Linked DNA regions of Homo sapiens: all the other regions are linked to region 1. Evidence: promoter capture Hi-C in 16 types of primary human blood cells and fetal thymus (Javierre and others, 2016). All regions are on one chromosome and are shown on one strand. Each heading gives the region's core, a stretch centred on a gene start or on the middle of the fragment in contact. The rest is flanking DNA. Distances are from core to core; before and after follow the strand shown.

The links. Contacts are between HindIII fragments. The CHiCAGO score rates a contact against its expected background, and 5 or more counts as called.
Region 2: a contact is called between a fragment that was not itself captured here and the fragment with the promoter of RTP4 in region 1, in 1 of 17 cell types (neutrophils). The highest score is 5.2, in neutrophils.
Region 3: a contact is called between a fragment that was not itself captured here and the fragment with the promoter of RTP4 in region 1, in 1 of 17 cell types (activated CD4 T cells). The highest score is 5.6, in activated CD4 T cells.
Region 4: a contact is called between a fragment that was not itself captured here and the fragment with the promoter of RTP4 in region 1, in 1 of 17 cell types (neutrophils). The highest score is 7.8, in neutrophils.
Region 5: a fragment that was not itself captured here is called in contact with the fragment with the promoter of RTP4 in region 1 in 5 of 17 cell types (activated CD4 T cells, total CD4 T cells, naive CD4 T cells and 2 more); the score reaches 8.9 in activated CD4 T cells.

The regions. Positions count from the first base shown.
Region 1 is chr3:187,366,233-187,371,591 of GRCh38, reverse strand. RTP4 (receptor transporter protein 4) reads right to left here and starts at 3,207. Exons shown (of 2, transcript NM_022147.3): 1 at 2,996-3,207; 2 at 1-804. The coding sequence starts at 3,150. The coding sequence ends at 219. RefSeq lists an enhancer at 2,997-3,346. The HindIII fragment of the contact is 4,178 bases long and covers 1,123-5,300 here.
Region 2 is chr3:189,213,085-189,218,443 of GRCh38, reverse strand. It overlaps TPRG1 (tumor protein p63 regulated 1), which reads right to left. Exons shown (of 6, transcript NM_198485.4): 3 at 3,061-3,152. Among named protein-coding and RNA genes, the nearest start is that of TPRG1-AS2, 25 kb to the left of the region's middle. The HindIII fragment of the contact is 2,060 bases long and covers 1,270-3,329 here.
Region 3 is chr3:189,137,626-189,142,984 of GRCh38, reverse strand. It overlaps a transcript of TPRG1 not described here. Among named protein-coding and RNA genes, the nearest start is that of TPRG1, 32 kb to the left of the region's middle. RefSeq lists an enhancer at 5,176-5,359. The HindIII fragment of the contact is 501 bases long and covers 2,693-3,193 here.
Region 4 is chr3:189,047,360-189,052,718 of GRCh38, reverse strand. It overlaps a transcript of TPRG1 not described here. Among named protein-coding and RNA genes, the nearest start is that of TPRG1-AS1, 100 kb to the right of the region's middle. The HindIII fragment of the contact is 7,093 bases long and covers 1-5,359 here.
Region 5 is chr3:188,952,977-188,958,335 of GRCh38, reverse strand. No RefSeq gene overlaps it. Among named protein-coding and RNA genes, the nearest start is that of TPRG1-AS1, 8.0 kb to the right of the region's middle. RefSeq lists silencers at 842-1,136, 3,502-3,796 and an enhancer at 652-1,186. The HindIII fragment of the contact is 3,306 bases long and covers 1,118-4,423 here.

The DNA of each region.
Region 1 (5,359 bases), core at 1,958-4,457:
TGAAGACTTTTTAGCAATTCGACAATATTTATTACTAAATCCATTATGTACTTGGTCATGTTTCATACTGTTTTCAGAGGATGGCTAGGAAACCAGTGTTTATTCTACAAACTTGATCCTGCTTGGTCTCAAAATGAATTTTCAGTTATATTAAAGTGGCAGCCAGTTCATTGACTACCATGGAATTAAAATAAGAGAAAGTGGCAAGCCTATTTTCATCATTCTGATGTAAAGCATTTGACTACAATAAATACAAGCAGCAAAATAAAGACACAGATGTTCAGTGGATCTGGGTCTCGACTGGGCCCTAATTTCTCATACCCACTCCCCTTAGCCTCTTTTGCCTCAGCTGACTGGTTCTTGGCTTGGTTTGCGAGGTACACAGCACCAATTCCAGGTGAGGAATTCCCAGTCTTTAGGTGGGGGAGTAGGGATTTGGACGGCTTTGTCATGCAGCTTTTTAAGCCCTGTCCACAGATGCCCAAAGTGCATGCCTCACAATTGGCTGTGTCATGGGATCCTTCCAGGGACACTTCCAGGATTACTGGCATTTCTGGAGACTTCCTCGTGCCATTTCCATAGTATTTCTTCAGTATATGCTGCACCAGGTTGCTCAGAATCCTCATGGTGCTATCCGAGGAGAACTCAGGCATCTCATATTGGGACCAGGAGCACTTCTGGCACCTTTGGCCAAAGAGCCTCATACGCACCTGACCCTGGGATGTCCAGTGCTCCCAGTACGTGTGGCACAGAATCTGCACTTGGGCGGAAGCCCAACTTCGCTGGCAGGAGGAACACCGGAACCTGCAGTCAGAAGGAAGACACCCATTATGCCTTCATCTGGTTGTTAACCTGAGGGAAAATGGTCTTGGCCCCTGTCACTAACATCCTTTTCCATTTGAAAAAATGCATGTGATTTAGATTGTCCCAGTCATTGATAAACAGGAACAAGAAGGACTATGTTTCAGATAAGGCTTTTTCCTGTGACCTACTGAGTATCCACCCATATGTTACACCCAAGTCTACCTCTTTGCTAGTAAAACATCTCCAGATGCCTCTGAGGGAAAATCATGTCTGCCATCTTCCAGAGAAACTTATTCCTAATTTTGGTCATAGAAAGCTTTGGTAAAGTATCTATTTTGATGCATACAATATAATTGGTCTTTATAATTTTATCCCATTTCATCTGTGAAGTAAGCACTATTAAACCCAATATCCAGATAAGGAAACTGAATCATGAAAAGGATACGCAACCTGCTTAAGGACACACAGGGTAAATGTTAGAGGCATGCTGCTAATCTCAGGCCATCTGAAATTCAACTCATTTACCTGCTGTAACACGTTGCCTCTGGTGAGTAGTGTAGCTAATCTCTCACACCTGGAGAAACAGACTGCATCCCTCATACCTGGGTTGAAGATCCAGTTTACATCAGGAAGACCTTGGGCAAAGCCCTTCCCTTCTATAACCCTCATTGTTTGAATCCATAAAAAAAAAATTCAAGGGTTATATTGGCAGCATCAAAAGAGACGATGTATGTGAAAACACTTTGTAAACTACAAAATGCTTTTCAAAAGCTGATTGATATTTTCCAAAAGTACACTGGTAGGTTGCTTTTCCGATCTCGAAATGACAATCAAATCAAATCATCCCAACAGGAGAAACACCTTCTTTCTGTTTGGAGGAGTGCCAAAACGTTGTAAGACATCATGAGTCCCTCAAAAAGCTCTGGCTGGTGTGGACAGAAATATTTACACATTTCCCTGGATTAGAAAGCAGAGCAACATGACTGCTATACGGGCTCTGACAAGTGACTTGAGAACTGTTCTGGAGACGTTTAGGAGGCTTTATTTAAACAACAGATTCTGCAGCTAAAAATAAGCATATACTGTATTTGATACAATATATAATAATACATATATTATTTATAAATTTATTATTCTGAAATACATAGTACATATGTATATATAATTATATATCATTTATGTATACATATACATATATATTTTATCTTATCCCATTATCTTATGGGAATGTATACGAAGGAATACTTACTCTGCCTAGGAGAACCAGAGAATGCTTTTAGGAGGAGGAGGCACTAGAGTGGGCCTTGAAGGATGAGCAGGGAGGGGTGAGGGGAGGGTCTGCTGAACAAGCAGAACTCCATGAACAAGAGTGTGGAAGTCTGAAGATGCATGGCATAGCTAATAGTCCATAAGGAATGGAGTAGGCCATACCTGAGGCAGGATGGGGCAGGCAGGCAAGCTGAGTAATAGGTCAGATGAAAACTATACCGAAGGTCCTGTGTGTCATTTAAAAATAAATTTGATTATCCAGGTCAGCAATTCTCACCCTCCTAACATGGTCAAGGAAACTGGTTCCTGCAACCTGGAGGCTTGCTGGGGGTTAAAGAGGGAAGTGGTGAGTAAGGGAGGAGTATTACTTGGTGACTCCATGAACTGGGTTTTAGATTTAGTTTTTGCAACATCATTCTATACTATTATCCCCAGGCCTTCAGTAAAGCAATGTTCAGAGTAACTGCTTGATCTTAGCCAATTCTTAAGATATTTAAAAAAAAAAAAAAGGCTCCGTCCCAGGCTTGTACTGAACAGTGCCAAGGCTTGGAGAGCTGGTGCAGCTGGGGGAAGCTGGTCAGGACTGCTGGGGAGACTGCAAAAGACTCTAGAGGTAGTCTGGAACAAATGACGTGGTGAGAAACTAGAAGGGAAAATTTATGGAATAGGGAGCCTTCTCCAGGGTTTTCCAGAAATATTTACGGAGGGAAACCTAGTAAAAGAAGAAACTTCCAGCAGTTAAACAAAATGGAGGTTTGGAGTCGTCTTATCATGTCGACCCTAAAGAGTACTATGACCACAATAGGATGGAGGCCCTGGTGACATTTACTCCTTCAACAAGCTCTCAGAGGAATAAATCATGCTAAGCTGAGCCTGAGCCTCTCTTCTCAGAAGAGCTATTGCCTGGGAAACCCACACTCACCAGCCAAATGCTCTCTGTTGGTATTGCTTCCACCCTTGAGCCAGGCAGTCTAGCTGAAGGTTGCCATCCAACTTCAGCGTCCATGTGGCCCGGGGTTTTGCCTCTTGGATTAGTTCTTGAAATGTCTGCTCCCAAGTCCAGAAATCTACAACCATTTTTTCCCTCTGAAGCTGAGAGAGTAGCTTTCAGGTTTGCTCGTTTCTCAGGAAGAGACAAACAGTTTCAGTTTCGGTGTTCGGTTCAGTTTCTGTTTCTGTGTATGGACATGAGCTGTTTTTTTCAACCTTCATTTTAGACTGTCTGAGTACACAGAACAAGTCTTTGTTCTGAAAACAGACAGCAGCAAAACTGTGTTAGTTAATAGGCCTTGCTGAGAGAGAGATAAAGAGCTCTGTTCTAGATTCTGGGGTCACATATAAATTCGCTTTTATTTTCTCTCTCTCATTTTTTATAATAGGCAAAGTGAGAGGTGACAGCATGCTGGTAGCCCTCGCAGCCCTCGCTCGCTCTCGGAGCCTCCTCGGCCTCGGTGCCCACTCTGGCCGCGCTGGAGGAGCCCTTCAGCCAGCCACTGCACTGTGGGAGCCCCTTCCTGGGTAGGCCAAAGCCAGAACCGGCTCCCTCAGCCTGCTGGGAGATGTGGAGGGAGAGGCACGGGCAGGAACCGGGGCTGCATGCAGGGCTTGCAGGCCAGCTAGAGTTCTGGGTGGGCGTGGGCTTGGCGGGCCCTGCACTCGGAGCGGCCGGCAGGCCCCCAGCCCTGGGCAGTGAAGTGCTTAGCACCTGGGCCAGCAGCTGCGGAGGGTGCGCCAGGTCCCCCAGCAGTGCCGGCCCACCGGCACTGAGCTCGATTTCTCGCTGGGCCTTAGCTGCCTCTCTGTGGGGCAGGGCTCGGGACCTGCAGCCCGCCATGCCTGAGTCTCCCCACCCTGGGCTCCTGCATGGCCCAAGCCTCCCCGACGAGTGCCACCCCCTGCTCCATGGTGCCTGGTCCCATCGACCGCCCAAGGGCAGAGAAGTGCGGGCACACACGCAGGACTGGCAGGCAGCTCCACCTGCTGCCCCCGGGGCGGGATCCACTGGGTGAAGCCAGCTGGGCTCCTGAGTCTAGTGGGGACTTGGAGAACCTTTATGTCTAGCTAAGGGATTGTGAATACACCAATGGGCACTCTGTATCTAGCTCAAGGTTTGTAAATGCACCAATCAGCACCCTGTGTCTAGCTCAGGGTTTGTGGATGCACCAATCAGCACCCTGTCAAAACGGACCAATCAGCTCTCTGTAAAACAGACCAATTGGCTCTCTGTAAAATGGACCAATCTGCAGGATGTGGGTGGGGCCAGATAAGAGAATAAAAGCAGGCTGCCCCAGCCAGCACTGACAACCGGCTCGGGTCCCCTTCCACGTGGTGGAAGATTTGTTCTTTTGGTTTTTGCAATGAATCTTGCTGCTGCGCAGTGTTTGGGTCTGCTCTGCCTTTATCAGCTGTTAACACTCACCCGGAAGGTCTGCAGCTTCACTCTTGAGCCAGCAAGACAATAAACCCACCAGAAGGAAGAAACTCAGAACACATCCGAACATCAGAAGGAACAAACTCTGGGCACTGTGCCTTTATGAGCTGTAACACTCACCATGAGGGTCGGTGGCTTCATTTTTGAAGTCAGTGAGACCAAGAACCCACCAATTCCGGACACAAAAGCACTGTTTTTGGCACTGGGAAAAGAGTATCCTGTAGCTAAGAAACAATTCCTGCCCCCACAGATGCTCACACCCAGGTGGAGACAGGGAGGTTAGGAGCAGCGTAGGGGAGCACGTGTTTAATGCTCATCTCCTACACCCCATGTATCCTCACCAGTCCCGCGAAGGATTATTCTTGGAGTTTTGCAGGTTAACTGCACAGAAAGCTGGGGTACTTTGTCCAAATCCCCTCAGTTAACGAGCAGTGGAAGTGAGACTTGAACCCGGGTCTGTGTGACTCCAAAACCTGCCATGTGTCCGCCCACCTCACTCCCTGAAGAGAAGCTGAGAATGGCATTTCAGGTTCCAGGCTGGCACACTGGAGCCAGTGTCAGAGGAACCGTAGGGAGATTTCCTGGGTCCTGAGGCAGGAGGTCAGCTGCATGAAGGGATTATCAAACTCTGCCCTCCACTCTGTAAATTATGTGGAAGGGCAAATACGCACAGGTGTGGGGGCCGTCTTTCAGTGGTAGGATACAGAGAATTCCCATTTTGGGGTAAGGGATTGAGATGAGATGACCTTTAAAGACACTTGTAAGTCTAAAACGCGGAGATTCCAGAGAGTAAGCTTTGTCCTCCTGGGGCTTAAATTCAAATAGGGGAGATAGGACAAGCAGGATGCTTACTTA
Region 2 (5,359 bases), core at 1,050-3,549, 1.8 Mb before region 1:
ATTTTTGTTATACATAAAAGAGAATCTCGGCCGGGCGCGATGGCTCACGCCTGTAATCCTAGCACTTTGGGAGGCCGAGGCAGGCGGATCACGAGGTCAGGAGATAGAGGCCACCCTGGCCAACAGGGTGAAATCCTATCTCTACTAAAAAAAAAACAAAAAATTAGCTGGGTGTGGTGGCGGGTGCCTGTAGTCCCAGCTACTCAGGAGGCTGAGGCAGGAGAATGGTGTGAACCCCGGGAGGCAGAGCTTGCAGTGAGCCGAGATTGCGCCACTGCACTCCAGCCTGGGTGACAGAGCGAGACTCCGTCTCAAAAAAAAAAGAGAGAATCTTGTGTGGTTGGTGAGGCTAGGGTAGTTGGTCCATATTACAGCTCCTATAATTCATAAGAACTAAATAAATGGGAAGCAAGAAGCCAGGAGTAATTGCAAGCTCTTACCTTTCTGGGCCTGCATGTTTGTTTATTTTCTTTAGTTTTTTTGTTTTGTGGTTGCTGTTGGGGGAGTTGGGATTTTTGTTTTTGTGTTCTCATTGTTGTTGTTTTTGCCTTTCCCTGCCTTGGTGTGCTAGAATTTTCAAACAAACAAACAAAAAGGCTTAAATATGAAAGGCCATTTAAATCCTCCATGAATGCTCCTCTTTTTGACAATTATTTTTTCTTATTTTTCTGCTTGAAAAGTAACAGTGGCTAGACTAGGAACCTCATTTATTTGGACCAGATGCCTGAACCATGGTCTTTACAACTAGCAGCGCTTTCCATTGCATAATGCATCTCGGAACCCACGATGAGGTTTTTAACAAGCAAAGAAAATAAACTGTCAAATTCTCACCATGGCAGAAATGACTGAAATCAGAACTTTTCCTGAAAGTAGGTTTTAATGGGGAAGAGGAGGTAAAGGCTTTTGGCAGAGAGAAGACCAAAAAGAACACCAAGGAACTACGATTTAAAGGGGATGGATGGGTTCCAAAGTGCAAAGGAAGAAAGTCTGCAAGCAAACAAGCAAATATGATAGTAAGAAATTATGTGTATGCAGGACTCATCCCTCATTGTTGTAGTTAATTTAAATAGGTACCACAAAACAAAAGAGAAATGTAAAATGAGTTTCTAGATAGGCTTTACCAACTTTTGAGCTTCCTATTTAGGTTCAAGCTGGGTTCAAAGTTTGGCTCTTTGGGGGACAGCTGTTCATACTTTTCTGAAAACTACTGGTGTTACCAATCATTGTAGTTGATGTTAAATCAAGCAGGCAGAATTGTAGTGCTAAGCTTCAATATAGTTCATGCAGTCTGACTTAGTTTTGGACAATTTATGTCTACACATCTTTATAATCACTGAATAAAAATAATCAAGCAAACAAAAAAAGCATATTTCTATATAAATAAAACCAATTAAAATGTGCAAGATTAAAGAAATTACCAGTTCTATTATCTGAGAACTCAACAACAGCCTTGACTAGATTTAGAAATACCGCATTTGTGTATTCTTTCTTGTAAGGGAGATGCAGTGTAGAAACAGATTAGTTAAGTGTTTGCTACTGATGGGATCTCCAAAATCTATGTTGACACCTATTCTAATCAAGGCAGAATATTCATTTGCAGAAGTCAAATATCACAATGGATGGGAAGTGGGGGTGGGAAATGAAATGCGTGTTGGTAAAAGTGAATTAGGAAAAAGCCTGAATTGCAGAGTTTTCTTTTCATTAGAGGTAACCCAGAAATGACAGAGATGGATAGTATAGAAATGAAGGAAGATGCTACAAAGAAAGAGCCTCTTACTAATAGTTATCACTTGTGAACGAAGAGGGGCACTAACAGCTATTGAAGGTCCATGTGCTAGGCATTTTGCTAATTTACCAACGTTATCTCATTTGGGCCTCAAGAATTCTTCAGATACATACTATTATCTCCATTTTATGCATGAAGAAACAAAAACCCAAAATTAACAGATAAGTTGGTGTCTAAGAGTTCATTTTTATTTATTTGAAACAATAGTATAAAATGGTGAGCAATCAGATGAACTCACAGGTGATAATGGCTCTACTTTCCATTGATTGAAAAATTTGTTCTGCTGGCCTGGATGGTAAAACATTCAAGTGTTGCCCTCCTGAAACTTAGTCTAACAAGACATCCTGCCCAGCAGTTAAAGATTAATGATTATTTACTCAAGGTATAGGAATCACAGAGCTTCTCTGCTGAACCCTTTTGTGATCAAGTTACCAGGCCAGAAAACAGAACTTACTGAATTAATCAAGTATCTGAACTGGGTAGTCTAATCAAATTATCTATTTAATATTAAGGCTTCCGTAGTAAAAAAAAATTGCCTTTTCTCTTATTATAGGGATATTTTACTTATTATAAAGACCATGGTATTACTAATATTTACTTGGCGGGTAAAGAGATGGTCACACAAACAACAGAATTTCTGAGAAGGCTAGAAAGGTAACCATCTTTGTGGTGGTATTTGCAAGCAAAGCTCTTATGGATAAGATAATCTTTGGGGGGAATGCAGGCAGTTATTGAAGCAATAAGGGCTTGAATGTTCGACTTGGTTTTTATCCTAACTCTGGAAATGTACCTGACTTAGCTATCTTCATGATTTCCCTGGTTTTTCTGTTCATGATTGTATATAAGATCAAATTCAAAGTATATATGTTGATTTTATCTATATTCTTTCCCAGACTTTCTTTCCATGACACCTAGAATGAGATGATTAGTAGTTCAATGTGTTTATAGGGGGAGTGCTTTTAAATAAGAGATTAGAATGAGAGAATTAGGAAGCCAATATAACAGTCTTTGAGAGTGGAGATACAGGCCTGACCTAAGGTAGACGTAGTGATGGTTGAGTGAGGGGACCAGCCCAGAAAACAGGTATAGGAGTCATATCTGGTCATATCATCAGCCACGGAATGCTGGAAAATGTGACTAACCTGGTAATTCAATCATTTATCTTATGTAGCAACCAGAGAAATTCTACCACAGGTCCATCTCCTATTCTGCTACAGTGATGTCAAGGAAAACGCTGTATTTCCACGGCCCTTCACTTAGCTGTGACTACTCACTTTGTCAAGAGCCAGAAGCCTTGAATGGTCTCTCCAGAAGTCTCAGCTACGTGACCTTTCAAGTCTTCCATGGCAGTCTCAATGGCCCCCGGCTGTGTGGAAAGGAGAAAATACCTAGTTTAGAGCAGACTTAGCCCACTTCGCGCTTATGATTAGTTAGTATATTCCAGCAGCTCCTCCGGAAAGCTGGTCACAAAGGATATAGTTTATGCAGTTGCCTGTATGCCTAACTGCCTTCCAGAAAACTTACTCTTGAACTCTGGTAAGCTTTTCTCCTTGGGTAGAGAAAAAGTGATCTAGGCCCCATCTTCTATAATCTTACTCAGATTTAATTATATAAATGAAGACAGCCACTTTCAGAGGAACAGTTTTCCCAAACAAGCATTATAAAGTTCAAAGCCTTTAGGAATCTGTACATTTTTAAATTAAACCTTTTTTCTCTTCCTAGAGCACATGTCAATAAAAAACAACATAGCCTTCTTCCAATGCTCTGACAATAAATTTTAGCTGACTCATGGAGATACACTCTTTCAGTCTCCTCACCTCATTTTCTGCTTCCTTCCCCAAACAGGTGTTACTACTTATAGGCCCAACCTTAGCTTAAAGATTGATTGTCATCTGTTCTAGTAAGTTCATAGACTCTTTAGCTCAATGACTCTCAAATTTCAATGCCCGTCAGAATCACCTAAAGTATGTGTTAAAACATAGATTTCTGGGACTCTACCCAGAGTTTTTTATTCAGCTGGACCAGGGTGGGACCTGAGAATTTGCATTTCTAACAAGTTCTTGGGTGCTGCTGGTGGTGTGGAGACTGTACTAAGAGAACCACTGCTCAAATGTACTTCGACAGAGAAGGTTGTGCCAACGTCAGTCACCTCCAGTGACCCCACTGGCAGGAATAGATGACTCTGGAGGGGAGTTGCCTAGGATTCTATGACAATTTTCCCTACACTCAACCTCCACTCTTTGTGATGCAGTCTGACTCTTCCAGTCCCACTTGTCCTCTCAAAAATAATACTTTCTTTAATGACACAACATGGGTATTTTTTTGGGTCTCTCTTCCTGTATTCACATAATTTTGGTCTCAACAAATATAACTGAGTAGTGAGACTAATATTTTTCAGAAGAAAAAATTGTTAAGTAAAGAGTCATGAAATAATCCTAAAATAAGCATTTTATTGAATGCTTTTATGCCAGGCACTTTGCCAAGGATATGTGAAGATGAGTATAATCATGTAGAATTTTTAAAACCTTATTTGCCTCGCTTATGGAAAATAATTGGCAAAGCCTATCAAAATGAAAAATGATCTATCCTTTGATCCATATTTTCACTTCTGTGAAATTATACTAAAGAAATTTTTGCATATATACAAAATGACATATCTATAAAGTGTTCTTTGCAGCCTTATTTTTGGATAGCAAAAATTTCTGGAAAAAAACCGCAAACATCTCTCAATAAAGGACTAGGGATATATATTATAGGATACATTCATACAATACAATATGATGAAGTTATAAAAAGTGTGAAGAAAATTGTGTTAATATGGGAAGATTTTTAAAGGTATTATCAAATGAAAGAAAAAAATGAACAGAAGAGAAGGTGAAATATGCCATTTTCTGCATAAAAAGGAGGAGAGGGAATAAAAACAAATATTTATGTTTGCTTCTATATGCCTAAAGTAACTCTTAAAGGATATATAGAAACTATTAACATTGGTTCCCTATGGGTAGTAACGAATGTGATGAAGACAGAAGATGAAGGTGATGTTTTGCTGTATACCTTTTCAAAAGTCAGACACAAAAAATAAAGCATGTTCTTTACAGAATGAATTGGTAGCCTCTGGAGTTCTATCAGTCTTCTCACTGTGCTGTTCTTATCTTTGGTAAAAATGTAGGTCAAGCCCTTATAGAACACAGAAGGAAAATATACCCAGATACAGAATTGTACTCTCCCCTATCTTACTATTATAGTTACTATAATAAGTTAACTTTAGTCATTTAGTGCCAAATATAATATGAAAGTATAAATACATTGACTTGTGTCTGGGACATCAAGGTGTAAATCTCAGCCTTTCTTATGAGGATCCATTATACACCATTTTGTCATTCCGTACATCAGTTTGCTCATTTATTAGATGAAGAAGATAACAACTGTAACTGAGTCATGCTACAAAACACTATATATATTATTACATATAAAATGGTAAATACTGATTAATAAAAATCTTTATCATCATTCTCATTATGGCTGATATCAGATAGAAGGAAAATAGTTATACCAGAATTTGGGGATCAAATG
Region 3 (5,359 bases), core at 1,694-4,193, 1.8 Mb before region 1:
TAAATCTATGGAGTTCTAATACTGAAAGAATTAAGAAAATCATTGCCACATTAAAGGTGAAAGTTTTTAAAAATATATTAATGAGGTGGTGGGAAGTAGGCTGACATTAAAGTAGGTTTGGAAGTGTTTGCTTTCTCTAATTAAATAGAGCTAATGAGTTTCTCCACTGAGCCTGAGCACTGGGCTAAACAGTCTCACAAGCCTCTGGTTTCTGTGATCTCAGTAAGAGATGGCCAACTGGCAGCCGAAAATAATCTGCATCATGGGGTGATTCATCCTTCACACCTTTGGGTGAAACCTTCCTGTCAGAATGCAGGAACAGGTTGCAAGCACCATGCAGGGTTGAGTTAGAGTCTCTTTGGTCTTCAGAAGCTGCTGACCCCTCACTCATATCAAGAGACTGTAGCACAAGGTCACTACAACAAGAATCAGAGAATGGCAAAATGAAAGCTTCCACAGATCACAAATCAGAGCTGGGAACAAAGTGACAAGGAGGAGATAGAATTTAACTGAACCACCCATCGTTGAAAATGGGGGCAGGGGGTAGGATCTAGAGATACAGAAGGCATGCCTCTACCCTCTCCTTACTCACAAGCATGGGATATGGGTTTTAAAAAAAGAAAATGAAGACAATCTAGCATATCTTCAGTGCTTTTGTGGGGTCTGCAGGTATAATCAATCCCTTGGTGTAGTTTATAAAGCCATTTATGACCTGGCCCAGCTTTCCTCTCCATTTCTGCACATTCCCTGAACATCTCACCACCACCTCGCATCACCACGAAGATGGAAGGAGCTTCTCCCAGACCTGGACGCGTCCTCTGTACGTGCTGCCCGTCCTGCCCGAAATGACCTGTCTTTCCTCTGCACATTCTAAGTCTTCCTTAGTGGAGCCACCTGCTCAGCAAAGACATTCCTGACCACCCCCTTTCTGTCACCCTGTTTCCCCCAGTTCCTCAGACTCCTTAAACTTGGTCCCTCTTTCAGGTCTTTGAACAGGTGCTTGTCTCCATCTTTGTCATCCTTATTGCAATTTATCTCTCAGGTCTCCACTTAAATACCACTTGGAGGAGAAATCCTTCATATCCCATTGACTTCTCCAGTCAGGGCCCCATCTAATTTTCTACTAGAATCCTGTTCTCTTCCTTCATTACACTTGTCACAGCTTTTTAAAGTAATCAATCAATAAAAAATATAGTGTATGAACTTGATTTAAGACTACACACACAAATACTTGAGACTGTAACGTTGGTAAATTTCAAGGACTATGTTTTGCTCTTCATTGTAGATCCAGTAATACTGGGTGCTCAATAAAATATTTGATGAACAAATTCTCTTCTCAAAGTGCTCAGAGCAGTTTGTACAGTCTTTAAATATAACACTTATTCCATAGTAATGTAATTATTTTCCTTCATATCTATCCCCATCCCTGGATTTTGAGCTACTCAAGACTAGGTGAGATGGCCCCACAGCATCCTGCACTTGGCATATCTTAATTGGCTTTAACCTGTCTTCCGGCTTCTTGGTGGCAAGAGCAGCTTGTTAGAAACATGCCTGGTGCCTAACACAGTGTCTGGCACACAAATAGGTTTTAAACAAATGAATGAATGAATGAATGAATGAATGGCTAGAATGTCTTCCCCTCCATTTTCCCCTGACCTCCCAAAGTGCCCTTTAAATGTTGGAGGATATTGCATCCTATCTCTTCGGTGAGATACAGTGCACCGTCTGTGTGTGTTTCTTACTTAAAGCACATTCCATACAACTTACAGAACTTTAGATTTACAGAAGAGATGTATAAGGATGGAAATTACTTCCTTGAAAAAAGGATTTTTTCTGCAACATGATACAGAGACCTGTAGGCATGCAGCTCTTTTTCCTGCATTGAATTTAAAGTATGATTTGCTGAAAACTGCTATTTGTTAATTCTTCAAGGAGAGTCTATTTTATAAAGCTTGATGTACTTGTGTGCAAATAGGTCCACTTTTGAGCTGTGTTAAAGTAATCAGGCAAATCCTTACTCATCACCAGGTAGGACCTGGTTTGCAGGCTGGTGATACAGCAGCTGCAAACACGGCACTCAGCTTGGGCTGCAGAAATCAAGATTGGCGCGGACATACCCAGGCAAGTTCGAGAGGAGGTGTCTGCCTAGGAAGGGGATGCAAAACTGCATAATTCAAAGGAGAAATGAAAGGTACCAAATGAAACTGCAGAATACTTACAGAGTGCATGATTACCCTCTTGAAATACCTGAAGGACTGCCACCGAATTAGGCTTTTCTATATGACCCAAAGGAAAGGCTCAAGGTGCAGGTAAGATTTGTGTTTAATATAAGAAAAAACCATTTAACAGAATTGTACGGAAAAGAACGGGCTGCCTTAGAAGAGACTGGCCTTCTGGACACCAGCGGGGTGCAAGACAAGAGAAGGAGAATAATAGTGGTAACATTGTAGGAGGTATTTAAGCATCAGATTTGGGAATAGGGTTGGTGAGGAAGAGGTAATTAATACTAAGTAATAGCAATGATTTGTTGACATAAGTCCCGTGTGTAGGGATTTAATCCCCTATAATGCTGTAAGTTGTGAGGGTACACTTCGTCCACTCCATTTTACAGATGAAGTAACTGAGGCACACAAAGCTTCGGAATGTGCCCAAAGTCACCAAGCTAGGGAGGGCTGGGGTCAGGATTCAAGCTTAAGTCCATCCACTTCAGGAGCCTACGCTTTTAGCCACAAAGACTGCTTATGTCCTGTCCAACTCTAATTTTCTGGGCCTTAAATATTGAGATACCAAGAGAAAACCTATAAAGGAGTCTCAAGTGTATCTGGTGAAGCTGAGTCCTTCACCTTCTTTCCTTTGTCCTCCAGCATGATTCCTATGCTTACGACTACAGAGCATCAAGCCAGTTTTCAAGTTTATTGTGTGTCTCTGTGTGTGTGTGCATAGATCTGACAGGGCTAGTTCATTTCAAGTAACCAAGTATGTCTTTGGACAGCTCTTGTCAAGATCCAATAGAAGAGCCAATTCCAAAAATATGTTCCTTTAGTGGTTTTTTAGGGTTCTCTGCTCTGCACGGATTGACAATGTGGTAACAAGAGACATTCTGGAGACTGGATTTAATGCAACCATATGCTAGACAGAATGAGAACCCATATTGCAGCAGACCAGCCGGTACATTTCCATGTTAACAGAAGCTTGATTGCAAATTACATTTAGTCTCAACAGCTCAGTTCACTGCACACAGATGCCATGGGGGACTGTAAAGTTAGCGAGATGTGGGGGAGTACGACTAACATTTTTTTTTGAAAAAAAAAAAAAAATCCTTCAGCTGATAGAATGCCAAGGAGCATCAGCGCTGATGCTGAAAAGAAAACGCTGCTATATTTGTTTTGCCAGAAAAGGAAAAATAATCATTGTCGCGAGTTGTTAGTCAAATTATGAATACGAGCTCGGCTGGTAATTGTCTGATAATACAAACAGTGATATTAGGGTTGTCAGATGCGGCACGCACTGTTTGACAGCTAACATGTACGTGCTCTCTGGATGAGGAGCTGGTTCACTGATTCCAGAAGTCAGGCAAACAGAGGGCTGGGTGATGGAGGAGAGCTTCCCTAGGATCCTGGCCCCCAGTCCAGGGCTGGATCCGGGTCAGCTCCCCAAAGTGTGGTCAGTATCTCCGCTACACAGAGGAGGGTCTGTGAAACTGCAAAGAGCACAGTGTGGGTTTCAGTGGCAGATGCATCTCTTACTTACTGTGCAACCCTTGGCAACTTATTTAACATCTCTGAGCATACATTTTTCCACTTCTAAAACAGGGATAATTTTCAACCAGGTCCTCCTCCTTTGTGAGGATCAGCTGAGAACCTTGTGTGTGAGCATACAGTAAACCACATGGTGCTTTCTAAATGTTGGGGCTGTAAGTTGTCTACTTGGCTGGGTTTCTTTTGCTCCCATTTTAAGAGCTGAGCTACAGTGATTTTTTGTCCATTTTCTCATGGCTGGAGCAGATTTTTTTTCTGTCTGAGTACAAACACCTTTCAGATAGAATCATTCATCTTCTTTTCCCCAAGGAGTGTGGCCACAGGGCACCTTTCACCTAGAGCCCTCCCTGACCCCTTTATTACATGCTTGTCCCCTAGGGAAGCTAGAACACTTTCATCAAGTTCTATCTTATATGCATAAAGCCCTCATGCTCTCCATCCTCCTGTTCTCCAGACACAAAGCTGTGATAGACACCGATCTGCTTAACAATGTGTTCTCCCCTTAGCCTCTAATTCCCTGGACCCCTTGCAGTTGAGTGTGGCTGGGTGGCTAAGTTCTAGCCAAAGGCATACATATGGACAGGAGTGATGTACACAACTTCCAGACATCACCTTTAAACTTCCTATGCGTGCCTGATCCTCATTCTCTTTCTCCAACCTCCAGCTGAGTGGCAAAGACCTGAGGAACTAAGGGGAGGAGAAAACCAGAAGATGGAAGGAACCTGGGTCTCTGAATGACTGCCTGGAGCATAACTCCCTTGCCAACCTGTATTGTGCTGGGAAGTGGGTGAGAAATGAAAGTCTGCTCTCTTAATCCGCTGGTATTTGTTGGTTGGTTGTTAATGTAGCTAGCCCTGCCATAAAACCCAAGCAATCATTGACTTTATCTCATTACACAAAATGTGTTGTTACCAGAAAAACAACCAGTGTCTCCTCAAATACTCCCTGAAAACACCATGCTCTTTCACACCTCCAAGCCTTTGCTTACATGACATTTTTTCCCTTGTCTCTTCTCTCCTGAACTCCAATTACACTTTTGTATTGAGTAAACTCCTACTTGCAGGACCCAGCTCTAACACACCCACCCAGAAGTATTGTCACTTCCTCCCCTGGGCTTTCACAAAACTTGTACATGCCCATTATTATGTGATAATGGAACTATGGTTTACACATATGTGTCCCTCCTCTTGAGGCAGGCACTATGTCTTATTCAAGGCTTTAATGGACGTCTAAGGCAGCTCTCTTTTTTCCTTTCTATTTTTGTCTATTATCTATGGAATTAGGTACCCTAAGGCTACATCTTCCAGCTTAAAAATAGAGAGGCACAGAGACAAATGGAATTGTCCATTTGATTCACCTTTAGAAGATCTCATCATAGCGCAGGAAAAGGAAGATCACATTTTTCTTTCTACCCATCCACCAACCAAGGCCTATACTGGCTACATACAGAGACACGAGAAGGGGGAAGGATGCTCACGTGAGAGAAGCAGGCATAAAGTGTTGTAGACATGCGGAACTTCCCTATCAAAATAGGCCTCCTGCCTCTCTCTCCCGCTCACTGCATTCCCACTTGGCACCCTACTGGGACCCCCAAGAAAGAT
Region 4 (5,359 bases), core at 931-3,430, 1.7 Mb before region 1:
TTATCCACTCATTGATTGATGGGCATTTGGGTTGGTTCCACAATTTTGCAATTGTGAATTGTGCTGCTACAAACATGCATGTGAAAGTATCTTTTTCGAATAATGACTTCTTTTCCTCTGGTAGATACCCAGTAGTGGGATTGCTGGATCAAATGGTAGTTCTACTTTCAGTTATTTAAGGAATCTCCACACTGTTTTCCATAGTGGCTGTGCTACTTTACATTCCCACCAGCAGTGTAGAAGTGTTCCCTGTTAACCACATCCATGCCAGTGTTTACTGTTTTTTGATTTCTTGATTATGGCCATTCTCGCAGGAGTAAGGTGGTATCTCATTGTAGTTTTGATTTGCATTTCCCTGATCATCAGTGATGTTGAGCATTTTTTCATATGTTTGTTGGCTATTTGTATATCTTCTTTTGAGAACTGTCTGTTCATGTCCTTAACCCACTTATTGATGGCATTGTTTGTTTTTATCTCACTGATTTGAGTTCATTGCAGTTCTGGATAGTAGTCCTTTGGCAGATGTATAGGTTGTAAAGATTTTCTCCCACTCTGTGGGTTGTCTGTTTACTCTGCTGACTGTTCCTTTTGCCGTGCAAAAGCTCTTTAGTTTAATTAGGTCCCAGCTATTTATTTTTGTTTTTATTGCATTTGCTTTTGGGTTCTTGGTCATGAAATCCTTGCCTAAAGCAATGTCTAGAAGAGTTTTTCCAATGTTATCTTCTAGAATTTTTATAGTTTCAGGTATTAGGTTTAAGTCCTTAATATATCTGGAGTTGATTTTTGTACAAGGTGAGAGATGAGGATCCAGTTTCATTCTCCTACATGTGGCTAGCCAATCACTCCAGCACCATTTGTTGAAAAGGGTGTCCTTTCCCCACTTTATGTTTTTGTTTGCTTTGTTGAAGATCAGTTGGCTGGAAGTAATTGGGTTTATTTCTGGGTTCTCTATTCTGTTCCATTGGTCTATGTGCCTATTTTTATACTAGTACCATGCTGTTTTGGTGACTATGGTCTTATAGTATAGTTTGAAATCAGGTAGTGTGGTGTCTCCAGATTTGCTCTTTTTGCTTAGTCTTGCTTTGGCTATGTGAGCTCTTTTTTGGTTCCATATAAATTTTAGAATTTTTTTTTCTAATTCTGTGAAGAAAGATCCTGGTATTCTGATGAGGATTGCTTGAATTTGTAGATTGCTTTTGGCAGTATGGTCATTTTCACAATATTGATTCTACCCATCCATGAGAATGGAATGTGTTTCCATTTGTTTGTGTCATCTATGATTTCTTTCAGCAGTGTTTCGTAGTTTTCCTTGCAGAAGTCTTTCAACTCCTTTGTTATGTATATTCCTAAGGTGGTTTTTTGTTTGTTTATTTGTTTTGCAGCTTGTAAAAGGGGCTGAGTTCTTGATTTGATTCTCTGCTTGGTCGCTGTTGGTGTATAGAAGAGCTACTGATTTGTGTACATTAATCTTGTATCTGGAAACTTTGCTGAATTATTTTATCAGTTCTGGGAGCTCTCTAGAGAAGTCCTTAGGGTTTTCAAGGTAAATGATAAATATCGTCAGCAAACAGTGACATTTTGACTTCCTCTTTACCGATTTGGATGCCCTTTATTTCTTTCTCTTGTCTGATTGCTCTGGCTAGGACTTCCAGTACTATGTTGAAAAGGAGTGGTGAGAGTGGGCATCCTTTTCTTGTTCCAGTTCTCAGAGGGAATGCTTTCAACTTTTCCCCATTCAATATTATGTTGGCTGTGGGTTTGTCATAGATGGCTTTTATTACATTAAGGTATGTCCCTTGCATGCCGATTTTGCTGAGAGTTTCAATCATAAAGGAATGCTGGATTTTGTTGAATGCTTTTTTCTGCATCTATTGAGAGGATCATGTGATTTTTGTTTTCAATTCTGCTTATGTGGTGTTTCACATTTATTGACTTGTGTACGTTAAACCATCCCTGCATCCCTGTTATGTAACCTACTTGATAATGGTGGATTACCTTTTTGATATGCTGTTGGATTCGGTTAGCTAGTATTTTGTTAAGGGTTTTAGCATCTATGTTCATTAAGGATATTGGTCTGTAGTTTTCTTTCTTGGTTATGTCCTTTCCTGGTTTTGGTATTAGGGTGAGGCTGGCTTCATAGAATGCATTAGGGAGGGTTCCTTCTTTCTCTATCTTGTGGAATAGTGTCAAAAGGATTGGTACCAATTCTGTGAATGTCTGATAGAATTCTGCTCTGAATCTGTCTGGTCCTGAATTTTTTTTGTTGGTAATTTTTAAATTACCATTTCAAACCTGCTGCTTGTTATCGGTCTGTTCAGGTTATCTAATTCTTCCTGATTTAAGCTAGGAAGGTTGTATTTTCCCAGAAATTTATCCATCTCTTCTAGGTTTTCTAGTTTATGTGCATAAAGTTGTTCATAGTAGCCTTGAATGATCTTTTGTATTTCAGTGGTGTCAGCTATAATATCTCCTGTTTTGTTTCTTAGTGAGGTTATTTGGATTTTCTCTCTTCTTTTCTCGGTTAATCTTGCCAATGGTCTATCAATTTTATTTCTCTTTTCAAAGAACCAGCTTTTTGTTTCATTTATCTTTTGTGTTTTTTGTTTGTTTGTTTCAGTTTCATTTAGTTCTTCTCTGACCTTGGTTATTTCCTTTCTTCTGCTGAGTTTGGGCTTAGTCAGTTCTTGTTGATCTAGTTCCTTGAGGCGTGACCTTAGATTGTCTGTTTGTGCTCTTTTAGGCTTTTTGATGTAGGTGTTTAGGGCTACGAACTTTCCTTTTAGCACCAAATTTGCTGTATCCCAGAGGTTTTGATAGGTTGTGTCATTATTGTCATTCAGTTCAAAGATTTTTTAAATTTCCATCCTGGCTGGTACTGGGGGTTGTCTGCACAGTGTCCTGTGATGTGAACCGTTTATGGGTCTCTCAGTCATGGATACCAGCACCTTTTCTGGTGGAGGTGGCAGAAGGTGCAGTGGACTCCCTAAAGGTCCTTAGCTTTGGTGGTTTAATGCTCTATTTTTGTGCTGGTTAGCCTTGGGCCAGGAGGTGGCGCTTTCCAGAAAGCATCAGCTGTAGTAGTGTGGAGAGGAACTGGTGGTGGGCAGGGCCCTAGAACTCCCAAGATTATATGCCCTTTGTCTTCAGCTACCTGTGTGGATAGGGAAGGACCGTCAGGTGGGGGCAGGGCTAGGTGTGTCTGAGGTCAGACTCTCCTCGGACCAGTCTTGCTGTGGCTGCTGTGGGGTATGGGGGTGAGATTCCCAGGTCACTGGAGTTGTGTACCTAGGAGGACTATGGCTGCCTCTGCTGAGTCATGAAGGTCGTCAGGAAAGTGGGGGAAAGCAAGCAGTCAGAGGCCTCACCCAGCTCCCATTGCAAACTGAAGAGCCAGTCTCACTCCCACTATGCCCCCACTACCCACAGCCCCAAGCCTGTTTCCAGGTGGAGGGCGAGAGGGGCTTGAAAACTTGCCTGAGGCTATCTGCCTCCCAGCTGCAAGAGAAAAGGGCTTTAGTTCTTCCGTGCCTGTGCCTGTGAAGTCTGCCCAACCTATTCCCACCCTTCCCCTAGTTGTGGCCGGGAGGCTTTTCACCCTGTTCAAATTATTACAAAGTTCAGCTAGAGAATTCCTTCTCCCTGTGGAGTTTTACTCCCTGCTCCTCTGGCTACCCTCCCAGTGGATCGCTGTGGTGCCATGCAGGAATGGGTTGCCTGGGGACCAAGCGAGCTCTCAAGGCCTTTCTGCTGCTCCTCTACCCCTGTATTTCGCTCAGCTCTCTAACTTGACTCAGCTCCAGGTGAAGTTGGAAACTTCTCCTGCAAACAGATCTTCAGCTTCTCCAGTGGGGGTGTGTGTTGCGGACGGGAGGGTCTCCCTTTCGCTCTTCTGCAGTTGGGGCACTCACAGTATTTGGAGTGTCTCCCAGGTCCTGCAGGAGCATTCGCTTCCTTCAGAGGGTCTGTGGGTCCTCTTGAGATTGCTGGTTTGTTCTTGCAGTCGATCTGGAGGTAAAATTCACAGTGCAAGCCTCCTCATGCTGCTCTGTCTGGAGCTGAATCTAGTCTTGAGTCCCATCCACCATGATCCAACTCATGTAGCCCAGATTTCCAAGGTAGAAAAAAAACAGCCTTCTATTGGAAAAAGATGCCAACTAGGACTTTCTAAGAGGAACAAGAAATGACTGGCTTCAAAGCATCAAAGGATAGGCTGACTCATCTTTTTAGGGATTAATGCATCTGGTGACTTTAGTTTTAAGTCAATACCCATTTACCTTTCTGAGAATTTTGGGACCCTTAAGTATTATGATAAATCTACTCAGACTGTGCTCTTTAAATAGAACAAAAAGCCTGATTGATAACACATCTTTTTATAGCATGATGTAGCAAATATTTTAAACCTACTCTTAAGACCTACTGCTCAGAAAAAAATATTTCTTTTGAAATATTACTGCTCATTGACAATGCACTTAGGCATCCAAGAGCTCTGATGGAGCTGCACAAGAAGTTAATGTTGTTTTCATGCCTGTTAACATATATTCATTTTGCAGCCCATGGATCAAGGAATAATGTTGACTTTCTGGTCTTAAGAAATACATTTTGTAAGGCTATAGATGCCATAAACAGTGGTTCTTCTGCTGTATCTGGCTAAAGTAAATTGAAAACCTTCTGGAAGGAATTCATTATTCTAGATGTCATTAAGAACATTCATGATTCATGGGAAGAAGTCAAAATACCAATATTAACAGAAGTTTGGAATAAGTTAATTTCAACATTCATGGATAACTGAGGGGTTCCAGACTTGACTGGAGAAAATGCCTGCAAACATGCTGGAAATGACAAAATAACTAGAATGAGAAGTGGAGCCTGAAGATGTAACTGAATTGCATAATCTCATGATCAAACTTTAACAGATGAGGAGTTACTTCTTACGGAGAAGCAAAGAAAGTTGTTTCTTGAAATGGAATCTACTCCTGGTAAAATGATGTGAACATTGTTGAAATGACAACAAAGGATTAAACTATTACATAAACTTAGAAGATAAAGCAGCAGCAGGGTTTCAAATAATTGACTCCAATTTTGAAAATTCTGCTGTGGGAAAAATGCTGTCAAACAGCATCACATGCTAAAGAGAAATCTTTCATGAAAAGAAGAGTCAATTGATGTGGCAAACTTTATTGCTGTCTTATTTTAAGGAATTGATACAGCCTTCCCAGCCTTCAGCAATCATCACCCTATTCAGTCATCAGCCATCAACATACAGACAAGACCCTCCACCAGTAAAAAGATTACAGCTCACTTAAGGCTCAGATGATTGTTACCATTTTCTTAGCAATAAAGTATTTTTAATTAAGGTATG
Region 5 (5,359 bases), core at 1,521-4,020, 1.6 Mb before region 1:
GGTTTGAAAGCTGAATTCTTGGGGCCTAGTTCAGAGACAAAGCTTACTTACTGTCAAGGGGAAAAGGATCTGCGGAAAGTGCCTGCAAAAAGGAGACTTATGGAAATAAAAACGGATCTTACAGGAATTGTTGAAAGACCAAATCCTCAGGAGATTAGCACTCAGGAGATATTAAGTAAACCAGTTTTCCTGGATCTCACTCTGATATCTGAATCTTAATACTAAAGAAATACTTTCACCTATTACAGTTCAGTGTCAGCTAATCAGAAATTTTGGCTAAAGCTAGGAATCATATAAATACATATATTTTAACTTAAGACTTTCACTTGCCAGTAGGTAGAGCCAAGGCCTCTCTTTAAGTGCACATTTTCCATTTGTGAAGCTCCATCTCATTTTTCTTGAATAAATCACTCCCATCATGCATCCTCTATTAGTTGAAGTTTCAGGTATTTTTGTTTTTGTTTTCTTTTCTTTTGTTCTTTGTAGCAGATAAAAACCTTAGAAACTTGCACAATTATTCTGGATTTTAATCTTTGTGTTATTCTTCTACAGTTATCTCATCCACAAACTAATTTTAGATCATTTTTTCAGCAATTCTTCCCTCTTGAGCCTTTCCAAAGCAATCAATTTAATTTTTATGGACACAGTCTCTTTATTTTTATACTTATATTTCATCTATTTGCATAATATTTAAATTATATAATTGCATTTACTAATAAAAGTAGCATAAACGGGTTTGAGGAAAAAATCAGCTGGTTCTTTGTATGCATCAGATTTGATTAATGGGAGAAGACAGACATCAGGAAACTAGAAAGCAGCCTACCACCCATGAGCACTTAGCATGCTATGAGCATCTGTCAGAATGTACAAAGGGAATGGAGAACTTAGGTTGGTTACCTGAGAGAGAGTTACATCTACTGAACAATTAAGTGCTCCTCATCACGAAAGAAAAGGAAAGAATGCGGACTGAATCCTGTGCCCTGAAAGTCGAATCAGCATATACCTGCTGTTTCTATGTCACCAAGAGGCTGATTCCAGGTGGGAGACTCTGGAAGATGAAGCGATTGGATCTTGAACCCAGAGCACCAGCAAAAGGTCCTGAGTTCCATAACAAGCTTTACTCCAGAGTCGCTGGTGTTGGGGAAATATTTGTAGTCATTTGGTCTAAGTTCCCTTGTTTTAGAATTAGACAATTTGACTCTCACATTTCTAAGGTTCGTTTTTAATTCCAAAACAAAGTCTGGTTGTTATCATTCTTTTTGGCCTTTTTCCCTTAGGTCCAATGCAGAGACGATGACCACTAGGGGTCAGACTTTTTACATTACTCCTCTTGAAAGAAGGAACCCAAGTCTTGGATTTTTTAACTGGGGAAAAACTAGAGAGGTCGTCTATCCTGGTAAGTAATGCTTCATTTAAACTCATTCAACATGTGTGACTATTATATTCTTAAAGATTTCTAAGAAATAGAGGTTTCATGATGCTCCCTTCCAAGGAAGTTTTTGATATCTAACCTAGATCCTTCAAATGTAATTTCAATCTATTTCTTATTTGTGATGTCTCAGTGGAAACTATTAATCATTGACTATTATCCTCTGAGTAAGAAATGTATTTATCTGAGCATGTATCAGTTCATGTCTCATTTCTCTAGCTGTCAAATAGGGGTCTAGGACTAGAATCACTTTTTCAATTAATAGTTCAATAAATAAGCAAGAAAAATAAGGTTCCAACTTAAATAACTCAAAATCAAACTGCCAGTCAATGGCTGGGCCAGGATTAAAATTGGGTTTTACATAACTCCAAAGTCCACATTGTTCTCACTAAGAACACTTCTTGCTGTCTCTTACTTAGTGCTCCTGCTGGCCTCTGGCTACTTGGGAGAACCATCGGCCTTTTCATTTAAAAAAAAAAAAAAAGTGAAAGTGGGGGATGAAGAAAGAGGGTCCCCTCAAGCTGTAATGAAGCAGTCACTTCCTTGGTCATCTAGACCACTGCGGTGATGGGCTGAAGTTAGCTCAAGAAGCCATCGGCATCTCTCAGTGCAGGTTTTGACATGAAATGGCAACATTCAGGCTTTGTAGAAGAAGCTGAAGGCAGTAAACTCCAAGCCAGAGTAAAAATCAAGTGTGTTCTGATGTGTTGGATCAAAACTTGGGAACCTCATGTGCTCTATCCTACCCCTGATAACAGCTGCAAATGTTTGTTTTTTTTTCTCTAGCATCTGGCCGGCCCATGTGTAAACAGAATGAAGAGTCAGCATGGGGAAAGAATCTGAATGCCCCGTTTCTCAGCCTCTTAAGGATACAGTGAAATGGGACAGGGTCTGAGTTAGGAAACTCTTTGAAATTACACGGAGATTCAGGCAGCAGCTCCCAATGGCACTATAGAATCTCTCACCTATAAGTCCCTTTTTATGCAAGAAAGACAGTTAAACAAAGGTAGTGTTGGGTAGTGGTAAGAACAGTGGATTGAGAATTGGATGACTCAAATTCCAAATGAGGCTCCTATAATAACTGACCGTGAGCCTTTGGGAAGACTATTCTTTCTGGGTCTCATTTCACCATCTGAGTTATAAGATGGCGGAGTCTTCTCTAAGGTTTCATCCAGCTTTACTTTTCAACTTTTTGGCATAATTCTAGCTGTAAAACAGGGGTCTAGGACTAGAATCTACCATATTGCTATGTTTATTCAATAGGTATATTCCTAGCTACTGTTTCTTCCTTTGACTAAATGACACTTTAAAGGTTATATCAACTCCCCCAAATCTTTTATGTCGCTTTACCTTGTCTCAATCCTAAACAACAAGTTAGGACTAACATCAGTGCTAAAGATAGAATTCAACCTATCAATTATTGTTTCTGTTCAAAAGCTAATTATTTAATCAGGGTCTTCCACTTGTTCAAAATTATAAGCAGATTAAGTGCTGAGCATGATTTTTAATGTGAAACATATGACTTTGGTATTCAAATGTACTTTTAAAGTTTTCAATATCTTTTCAATTTCTAAAAAGTAGATCAGAGTAAAATTTTTTTAAAGTAAAGATACTATTAGCTTTGATAAATGAAGTACAAACTAAATAACATATTATGAATTTGTAAATTCATATACAAATATACCTTGAAAGCTAAGTAAAGAATGTTGACTTAATTTAGCAGGCAATGAATGGAAGAAGGTTTCTAACTGAAGGAGTAATTACAATCTGAGACTAGAAACTGAGTTATTCCAAGAAATTACTCTTTGTAACCCAGCAATTAAACCTCTCAAAGAAGGCAGAATTCTTAGTTTTATGCCCATTTCACTGGATTACATTTCCCCTCTTTAAATTCTATTTTTTCACCACATCGTGATCCTCTTAAGAAAAGTTGTCAAAGAAATGGAAATAGAAGGAATGAGAAATAAAAGTCAAGAAGACATTGTAGACTTGATCTGTCTTATTTGGAGCTTGTATTTAAACAGAGGTACTTTTCATCCTTTCAGAGTTCCAGTTGGCCCCACTTCCAAGATGGCTGAGGATGTTGGCTCCTGCTCCATTCCAGCAGAGGGCGCTCTTGGAGCAGGATTGGGGATGGCAGTGGGAAACTGGGAGGACAATCTGAGCCTCATTCACCAGCCACTTAAGTTTGGTGTGAATCTGAGTCCTTCTGGACTGACCTAAAAGACAGCTCATTGGTCCGTGCCTTACAGAATTCTATTCATAGTCTAGTTAAACTCTGATGAAGACCCCATTTTCCAGCTCTACCTTCTCTGCTTACTGTAGAGAAAAAAGTGACTAAATTATCCTCAAGAAATAGAAAATAAGTTAAGAAATGTGACATCTGGGCACGTGCACAGAGGAGCTACTGAGGACTGAGAAATCAGGAAAAGGTTAGCCAAAATAGGTGTGTGTGAGAGATGTCAAAACTGCTTAGCAAAATCGCCTGTCTACTTTCTACCTCGTCTTCCAGAAGGGAATTCATAAATTTTTTTAAAAAGTAGTAGCAATATCATGGGCAGAGCCCAAATAATGACACAAAATGAATCTTGTACAATTGGCCCTTTGTATCCATAGGTTCCACATCCATGAATTCAACCAAGTGTCGATGAAAAATATTTGGAAAAATAAATGGAAGGTTGCATTTGTACTGAACATGTAGAGATTTTCTTGTCATTCTTCCCTAAATAGTACAGTATAACAACGATTGACATAGCATTTACACTGTATTATTATGAGTAATCTAGCAATGATTTAAAGCATATAGGAGGATGTGCGTAGGTTATATGCAAATACTACACCATTTTATATGAGATACTTGAGCATCCCTGGATTTTGGTATCCTCAGAAGATTCTGGAACCAATCCCTCAAGGATACCAAAGGATGACTATACTAGGAATGAATAGCTGAAATCCATAAAGGTTTTTGAGCTCAAGAATGATGTGAGCAAAGCTTAGCAACTGGGTTGCCTAGCAAAAGATTTATCCATTGCAACCCAGGGACTGAGCTCCAACTTGTAGCAAAAAAAAAAAAAAAAAAAACAAAGAGCACCAAGGAGCAGTGGAGATCTGGGCTGTAGCCCTAGCTCCAAGACTTCTTGTCTCTGTGTCTTTGGCCAGGTTCCTTGGGTGCGTCTCTTCAAGCCTCAGTTTCTCTGTCCATCAAGTGTGGGAGCTAAACCACATAACCTGTCAGATTCATTTCATATTTTACATTTTGAGTCTGTGCGTTTGTAGCATATTAGAACAGTAATTTAATTTTTCCTCAGGGAATCCATGGAAGGCAGGTTAAAGGTAGCTGACCATTTATTATGTCATTCTTCAGTGAATAGACATGTCCCTGAGGGAAGAGAAGAGCTCTTCTCAGAGACTTCCAGTCGCATCCTTCCCTCCAATCGACATATGCCCTCCAGTCATGAGCAGTGGGGGTGTGGTGTGGGGCTAAGGGTGAGGAAGAGAGTATCTATTTCTTAGCTGGTTTATGGAATCCAAGGTGGAAGTGGAGTTTGATCAGTCACTCAGTGTAGACTGACTTTGGGGCAAATAGAAAGCGAGCACTAGAAGAAGCTTAAGAGCTCAACTGCTCTTCCCTATCATTTAGTAAATGCTAAAATGTAGATCTCAAGGCCACACAGTAATTGGTAGAATAAACCTGGATTATGGTGTTTTTATAGGCTAAATGTAACCTCCAGCATATAACCTCCTCACTTACTAATCCCTATATCTCTACCAGAACTATTTAGATTTTCTCCTCCTGCTCATCACTAGATTTTTGCACTGCTTAGAGATGATCACAATCTCTTTGATCCTTCTCACACAAAACTTCACCTCATATATAGGAGCAGTAAGGTAATAGTTTCAGTGGAATCTGCTGTCTCTTGTGATGCTCTG